2 separate regions of the Homo sapiens genome follow, and region 1 is linked to region 2. Evidence: promoter capture Hi-C in 16 types of primary human blood cells and fetal thymus (Javierre and others, 2016). All regions are on one chromosome and are shown on one strand. Each heading gives the region's core, a stretch centred on a gene start or on the middle of the fragment in contact. The rest is flanking DNA. Distances are from core to core; before and after follow the strand shown. Region 1 overlaps UBAC2 (UBA domain containing 2). Region 2 holds the start of GPR183 (G protein-coupled receptor 183).

What was found. Contacts are between HindIII fragments. The CHiCAGO score rates a contact against its expected background, and 5 or more counts as called.
Region 1: a contact is called between a fragment that was not itself captured here and the fragment with the promoter of GPR183 in region 2, in 4 of 17 cell types (total CD8 T cells, non-activated CD4 T cells, monocytes and 1 more). The highest score is 6.3, in total CD8 T cells.

What each region holds. Positions count from the first base shown.
Region 1 is chr13:99,264,157-99,268,609 of GRCh38, reverse strand. The region is part of intron 4 of UBAC2 (UBA domain containing 2); the gene reads right to left. Among named protein-coding and RNA genes, the nearest start is that of GPR18, 8.0 kb to the right of the region's middle. The HindIII fragment of the contact is 1,363 bases long and covers 770-2,132 here.
Region 2 is chr13:99,304,939-99,309,273 of GRCh38, reverse strand. GPR183 (G protein-coupled receptor 183) reads left to right here and starts at 1,875. Exons shown (of 2, transcript NM_004951.5): 1 at 1,875-1,934. All of the region lies in intron 4 of UBAC2 (UBA domain containing 2), which reads right to left. The HindIII fragment of the contact is 4,315 bases long and covers 1-2,407 here.

The DNA of each region.
Region 1 (4,453 bases), core at 202-2,701, 40 kb after region 2:
GACAGAGTCTCACTCTGTAGCCCAGGCTGAATGGAGTGCAGTGACAGGATCATGGCTCACTGCAGCCTCGGCCCTCCAGGCTCAGGTGATCCTCCCACCTCAGCCTCCTAGGTAGCTGAGACTACAGGCACATGCCACCACGCCTGGCTAATTTTTTGTATTTTATGTAAACACAAGGTTTTGCTATGTTGCCCAGGATGGTCTCCAGGACTCAAACGATCTGCCTGCCTTGGCCTCCCAAAATGCCGAGATTACAGGTGAGAGCCACCATGCCTGGCCTCCTTCTATGTTTCATATTTTGACTATAAAGCCCAAAACTCCAGCTTGCTGAGGCAGCTAATGTGTTAGAGCTATTGTTCTTCTGAGAAGACTGCTAGCAGCTCCCCGAAAACCCACTGTTCCCTTATCTCCAGGGACACAACTGCCCAGGTAAGATTACATCTCCCAGCCTCCCTGTGATTAGGTGTGGCCACGTGACCAAGTTCTTGCCAATGGTTTGGGAGCAGGAGTGACATCTGCAACCTTGAAGGCACCTGGGGAAAGGCAATCCCTCCTCCTGCATGCCCCTTCTTTCTTCCACACCAGCTGGAAGCAGAAGCCATGGAGCCTCCTTGGAAGGCACATGTTGAGGAAAGCAGAGGTGCTCCACCAGACCAGGCCCTTGACGACTTACCGGTACAGAGCCTGCCTACCCCACAGGGTGGTTACAAAAGTGAAATGAACATCTGCGCTCTTTGAGCCACTGTGTCAGCGGTTTGTTACAGAAGCTTAGCCTCCACCATTACTGAAATATCCTCCTAGTTTTTGTAATTTGCAAATCTGATGAGCAAACACACTATATTTTGGTATTTTTTATCACTGATAAAATATTAATCAGAACAGCAGGGACCAAGAATGCTACAAAAAGATAAATGTTACTCTTTCAATTTCAAATGACTATAATAATAAAGGCAGATACCTTTCAGAGCATAAGAAAGCAGCAGTAGCAAGTGGAAGGCTCTGAAGTGAGCAGACTCTGGAACAGAGCTAGTTTCTTCCTTCCTTACTTATATCCTCCTGGACAAGGCAAAGGTGCTGAGGACTGCAGGAAAATACTGCTTCGGCTTAAGTCATGAGGAAAGGTTCCAAAAGGACTCATTGATTTTACTCAGGATAACCTCCCCTCCCTTCCCCTCACCATTTAGAAATCTAAAGCTATGAAATTCATCCTTATCATCAAAATATGATAAATGAGCAAGCCTAAAATATGCTCCAAAAATTGCATCAAAGGACACAATCAACAAAGAAAAGAGGCACCCTACGGAGTAAGAGAAAAAATATTTGCAAATCATCTGATAAGGGATTAACATCTAGATTACATAAAGAGCTCCTACAGCTCAACAACCAAGAAAGATTAACAAATGGGCAAAGAACTTGAATAGGCAATTCTCTAAAGAAGAAATATATATAAATGGCCAAGAAGCCCATGAAAAGATTCTTGAAGTCACTCATCATCGGAAATGGAAATGAAACCACAATGAGACACCACCTTATGCCCATGAGGATGGCTACTACAGGAAAGGAAGGGAGGGAGGGGAGGGAAGGGCGAGTGTGAGAGAGGTGTGCCTGCGAGCCAAGATAGGGAGAAACTGGGCATTGTGTTGCTGGTGCAGCTGCTGGGGAAAACGATACAGCCATTCCCCAACAAACTAAAACCAGAATTACCACACGATCCGGCAATTTCACTTTCAGGGATATAACCCAAAAGAACTGAAAGTAGGGACTGAAGAGATATTTGCTGTATGATGGGTACAGGCTTTCAGTCTGGGAAGATGAAAATGTCCTGGAGGTTGGCTGCACAGCAGTGTGAATGAACTTAACACTACTGAACTGCACATTTAAACATGGTTAAGACGATAAATTGTCTAATACATATATATATATATTTAACATGTCAAATTTGTTCTAAGGCCACATTTATGTTTAATATCTTAGTATAATATCAGATACAAATAAGAGTTAAAATGGAATCTTCTCAAGGCCCTAGCCCAGGAATACACATAGTCCTACAGAGAAAAACTGTTTCCTAAAAAAGAGGATGCTTCCAAAGAGGGCAGAAATGGTCTACAAGCCAAAATGTTTTAGAGTAAGCTTGTCCAACCTGCAGCCCATGGGCCACATGGGCCCAGGACAGCTTTGAATGCAGTCCAACACAAATTAGTACACTTTCTTAAAATATTATGAGTTTTTTCCATGATTTTTTTTTTGATCATCAGCTATCATTAGTGTTAGTGTATTTTATGTGTGGCCCAAGACAGTTCTCCCAATGTGGCCAAGGGAAGCCAGAAGATTGGCCACCTTGTTTTAGAGGAATACATTCATATCTATTATATAAAGCTACATATTATATAGTATTATGTAATATAATATAGAAATATTCATAAAGTAACATTAAAATATTTTATAATATTCTACCAATTAATAGCTTTTAAAAAAAATTATTTCAATTTCAAAGAGACTTTAGAAGGGGTAAAGGTGAAGAGCTCCAAGACCCACTAATCATCTGTAGGTGGCAGTAGAAGCACAGTATTTATGTCAAAGCAGCCCTGAACTATCAATCGGTATGGAAAACCGGAGACCATACATAAGAAATCTGGATCTATTTCATATTCAAATAAACTGTGTGAGTACTCCTACATTCAATAAATTGCAACTAACTTCTCTGATACGAAACCTTTTTAACTTGCCCACTTTTACCTTAAAACCTCTACACAGCCAATCCCAATCTACCTATTTCTTTTTGTCTCATTATTTTATTTGGTACGTCTTTGTAATTGTATCTACCTAGAAACATTAGCCATTCATTTTTTGAGACATGGCATAACCTTTCTTACAGAAAAACACAAACACCAGTCGAATCCATATGCCTGTTAACTGAGGGCCTGCTGGGTGAAGCACTACTCTAGATGCGCTGAAACGTTTGAAGACGCACGTGCCAGGTCCTTGTTCACAAGGCACACACAAAACGAGAACAAGAAGAAGAAAAGGGGTGAAAGTGCAATCAGGGATCAGTACCCACATGACTGTCAAAGAGAGATGTGTCACAGATACTTCAAACTCCAGTTCTAAAACCTGTAATTACTGATCCTAAATCAAATGTTCCATTCATGTTAGAAGAGCAAATCCTACACCAGAGGCAGAAAGATGTAAGCCAACACAGTCTGAGAACCTTTTTTCCAAAGAAGCACAGCGGCAGCTGGCCTGTGGGTCTCAGGGTGGTCCTGCCTGCCTCCTTCCTTCCCTTCTCAGTTAAGACTCTCTTTAGACTGTGGCTTGCTGAGCGCAAGAAGCTGTATGAGCTGAAAGTCATAAACTTCTCATAAAGTCTACCCATACAAATGGTATTAGCAATAAGAAGATAACATTGCTGCAAATATTCAACTGAATGGAGTACTAGTTTTATTTTATAAGCATACAAGGGAGAGTTCTGGTAAATACCTTGTCTGAGTAACCAAAATCAATGCAGTTTTATTACCAAGAAAAAAACAACACGTCTTCCTCTAAAGGTTGATTATAATGTCTCCAAGAGGTCGACTTAAAAATAAATTTAAAATATGGTAAAAAACATACACACTGAAGAACAATTAAAAAAAAAAAAAAAAACAGCGATGGCAAAGATCAGGAACTAATGTGACCCCATCAGGGGACTGAGTGCTTTGCATTTAGAGTAGGCCCAAACTTCAGCAGACACATTCTTGGTTTTCCTCCCTGGGATGAGGACTTAGGAAATGCATCCTGGACGCATTCAGGCTTCCATGCAGCCTCCAAGCTCCTATCCTGCCGGCTCCTATCCACAGTCCTACAGAAATTCAGAGGAAGACCAAAGGTAAAATACTCTCTGCAATGCAAAGAGTTGGGGAGAGGAATGCCTTCAAATCACACAAGGCCGGAAGTGGATGACCCCTCACAGAAGGCCTCACCCAACTGCCCCTGGGGAGAGTGACCATCAGAGAAATGAGCTAACATGGTTAAGACAACCTGGTCAGTTAGTGGCACATGCTGGGCTCCTGCACAGCTATCCAGTCCCAGTCTAAAGACAGGAAAAATTTAAATAAGCTACAAAGAAAAAAAGGGGACAAACGAAGCCAAGAGAACTAGTGCTTAGTGTCTACAGCATGCACTTTACACAAGCTATAAGGCAGTTTTTAAATAGGAAAGGTAACACATATACAGAAAAGTACAGCATGCCAGAAAATCCATTTGCTTCTTTTCCCTTCCCTAGCCTGTTCTCTGTCCCAGAGGCTGGTGGGTCCAAACTCTATGCAAAGGCTCATGGGCCCCTGGCTTCCTGCTAACAGGAGCCTCAGGGGAGATTTAGGCCAAGAGGAACCTGAGGTCACAGTGTACATTTCCCTGGTTCCTTCCTGTAAGGGAACCTCAAGCTTACCGTCTCTCAAAAGAAAAGCACTGCTCC
Region 2 (4,335 bases), core at 626-3,125:
CTGGGCATGGTGGCATATGCCTGTAGTCCCAGCTACTCGGGAGGCTGAGGCAGGAGAATTGCTTGAAGCCGGGAGGTGGAGGTTGCAGTGAGCCGACAGCACACCCCTGCACTCCAGCCTGGTGAGAGCGAGACTCTGTCTCAAAAAAAAAAAAGAAGGTTGGGAGGACAGATCCAGTTTGTCAGAGGAATTACTTGAACTAGCTGAGTCCTTCACTATATAAAAATGTTTTACTTAATATAACTATTTCAAAATTAACAGGCAAAACCCCACCAGAATGGTCTTTCAACAAACTGAAAAATTTATCAACAGTGTCTTCTTCAAGTACTCTGCAGCCTAAGTTTTAAATGAACTAGTTCTAGAATATGATGTCATGTTTATCCACCAAGTCATAAAATCTCTGTATTACCCCCTCATAGAATTTTTGTACTAGGAATTACCTTGGAGATCATTTAGTTCAATACCTTTATTTTATACACAGTGAGGTGGCGGCCCAAAGAATTCAGCTGACTTGCTTGATGCTCTTTCTTGTGTCTGACAATGTTCCTCCATACTCACAGCACTTTAGACGTTAGAAGAACCTAATGACATCTGTGGGAGGCAAAAGCTACTCGACTATTTTTACAGAATCCTGGAGCAGAAAGGCTTCTGAGATCACAGAGTTACAAATTCCTACCAAATGATTCAATTCTGTTTACATCATCCCTCAAAATCATCAAGTTTACTCAAGCATCTAAATAAGAAACAGCATATTCCATTTTTCAAAATAATCACAACTTTTGGGAATGACTCTCATCTTTTGATCCAAAAGCTATGTCCAGTAACTTCTTACTGACCCTCCCGCTAGTCTCTGGAGTTAGGAAGACTGACACAAGCAATGTAAACACTTTTCTATGAGAGTTTCCACAAGCATAAGGATAATGACCCTATGCCTACAAAGCATACACATCCCCAGCTTATTTAATCAGTTCTCCTAAGACCTGCTATCCAGGCCCCTCACTGCCACAGGTGTTATCTATGTCTTCGTAAAAAGCAGCACCCAGAAGTGGCTGGGAATGGCCAGATCAGTCCTGACTAAGTGTAAACATCACCTCTCCTGATCTGAGTGCTACATATCTGGTAATTTAGCCTACAAATAAACTGCATTCTGACAGACACGTTAGTTGGTTTAAACTGAGTCAACTACAACTATGAGGTGAATGGCATGAGTCTCTTTCACCCTGTGCTGAAGAGGCTGGATTTTATCTATAATGGGCCTCCCTTCAACTGTTTCCCTGTTATTCAAGTACTCACACAGCCTCTGACTCAGGCAGCCTCTCGACTGAAAACGGCGACTAATCCAGTCCACTCCACATCCTGGACTGTCACTCACCCCCACGCCACAGAAACCTGTTTCTTTCTCATAAGCTGTGGATAAGGTGGAATGTGTAAACTACTCCCTGATACCAAGTTTCCAGGTAAAAAGCACTGTCAAAGTTGACACTATTTTCCTTAAAACATTTAAAAACCCATACTTTTACATGCAAAATCAATATAAAATCATCAGTAACTTGGTCTTTTTTTTGGTTAAGGTTTATTGCTTCAGTCTCTTTCAAAGAATTTTTTGATACTTAAACCTTTACAGAAAAATTTATAAAGTTCCACAGATATCAACAATTCATAAATTCCAAGGGGCTTTTGGATAGTTTTTTTTAATCACTATAAAAAATTTCACTTCCCATTTAAAACAAAAAAAAACACAAAGTGCACACACGTACACGAGGCTAACTGCTCATTACATGCTCAGTCACAGGGTGACAGAGAAAAAAAAAGTCACCACCATAAAAGGAGGTCTGCACAGCCTCTCTTAAAACAACATGCCACAGTTAAAACTTACTTCAGTTTGGACAACTACTCACAGCTACTACACAGAGACCCGAACGAGTCACTGATATGTAAGTACAAGATCTTTTGCTTTTTCAACAAACTTTTTAAAGAAAAACTTTAAAAGCCTAAGTTTTAAGGTAAAAGGTAAAAAGGAAAACAATCTATTTAAGAACAAGCTACCATCACTTCTAACAAAAATTATATTAATAATGTAAGTTTACTCTCTCTGCTGACTGGTAGGTCTAGTTAGTTCTTATAAAGTTGACTGAAAGCGATGGGTCCACCAGAAATATCTTTGTCAAAAAATAGGGCTCACTTCATGTACTACTGTATAAACTCACAATGACAAAAGACAGTATCAAGCAAAACTATGCAAATAATGCCAATATTTCAGGATAACTTAGTATGAAGGAAAAGGAACAAAGTTATTTTAATATAGAATATTCCTATGCTATAGGAATTATTAGAAATATAAGATTATTTCTCAGGATAGAATCTCAGGGGTAGAATTCCTAGGGCAAAGGGTATATTTTCTAAAGCTTTAGATATAAAACGGTACTTTTTGGTCTACAAAAACATTTTACCAATTTACCCTCCCGCCAGCAAAGAGTACCAATCTTTGCTTTTTAAATGCTAAATACTACTAATTAGATAAGTGAAAAAAAAGTCTGTTGTGTGGTTTATACTTGTGTTTACTTAGACTAAACGTATCTTTTCTATGTGCCTGAGGGGAAAAAATCACAATGAATTCTATGCAGTGCTTTGGCAACATTTATGTCCAGGTTGGGAATGGTGGTAACAGAAACTTGGCAAAATAGAAGCTGTGAAGAGACTTCCTTTAAAGGGCAGTGAGGGTTTTATATATGTGTGTTTGTGTGTGTGTTGGGGGAGGGGGGCGTGGTATTTTGTTTTTTTGGTGTCACTCTGAGTACAATATAGTGTAATAAGAGCAAGGGCTCTGAAATCAGGATCAAATGAAATTTACAAGCTGTGTGGCCCCCCCACACACAAGTTACCTAATATCTGGCTTCAGCTGCTTTACCTGTAAAATGGGGAGTATTACTACTGCCAAGTCCTTACAACATTGCCTCTCATTATAAGTGCTAAAAAACTGTCTCCCATCATTCTTCTCCCATCTCTCTGGCCACTGACGTACCAGAGGGTGAATCCAACAGATATGTTATGGATATTTTACATAAAGACCCTGAATCAGGCTGGGTGTGGTGGCTCACTCCTGTAATCCCAGCACTTTGGGAGGCCGAGGCAGGCGGATCACCTGAGATCAGGAGTTCGAGACCAGCCTGGCCAACATGGTGAAACCCCATCTCTACTAAAAATATAAAAGTTAGCCAGGCACGGTGGCACTCACCTATAATCCCAGCTACTCAAGAGGGTGAGGCAGGAGAATCCCTTGAACCTGGGAGGCGGAGGTTGCAGTGAGCCGAGATTGCGCCACTGCACTCTAGCCTGGGCGACCATGCGAGACTCTGTCTCGATAGATAAATAAATAAATAAATAAATGGCCCTGAGTCTATGGATGATCACACATCTAACTGTGCTTACTGGTAGGACTGCACACTTCTTATATTTTAGCATGTTTTCTCTCTGCGGGTTCACTGCACTTTTTGGACATAAAACCACAAAGAATATGCTACTCCACAAAATGTTCACTCACATGTTTATGTATCGCGTTAGTGACAATGGTAATGATCCCTTGCATAAATTACTTTCATCTGGCTTCCTAGAGCTAATTAGTACCATGACCAGTCAGTTAATGGAATAAATATTAACTCAGGTTTCTATATGACTTTAATTCATTTATTTATTCTATAGATATTTACTAGATATCTATTGTAGGTTGGTTCTGTAGCATTCTATAGGATAAAATGTTGGATGAGATCAAGTCATCATCCTCAAGAAGCTTACATTTAAAAGAGCTTCGCACCTAATAAAGCCGTTTACAGGGATACTTTTCTCTCTGCTATGGTTAAGACCTGCTGGAGTTGTTAGGCAGCCCTGGACGTGGCCTGTGTAGAGGACGCGTGGTGTTCTCCAGTCTGGGGGGTTTATCACCTTCTCAAGAAGTCTGGGCATTGTATAAAATGAGATAACACATGTGAGAATCCTCTGAAAGCTGTGACAGTAACACAGATGGCTGTGGTGTTTTGGAAGCCCAAAGAGAAGAATAAAAATATTTTGTTAAATCTCTGCAAATATCTAAAAAGTAGTTTAAAAATCAATTAACAGCATAAAAGCCTATTCTAGATATTCACCATCTTTTTTCAATCGAAATTTCAGTCTAAATTGTTTTATTATTAAAATACTGTTAAAACAGTACTCTAAATCCATTTATAAAACCTTTACTTACTTTAAAATATGCTACAAATAAACTAATAAACTCCTTCATTTGAATCAACATCTCTTCCTCCCTGCTCCCATTCCCTTCCCCCAGTTCTCCTAGTCTCTCTT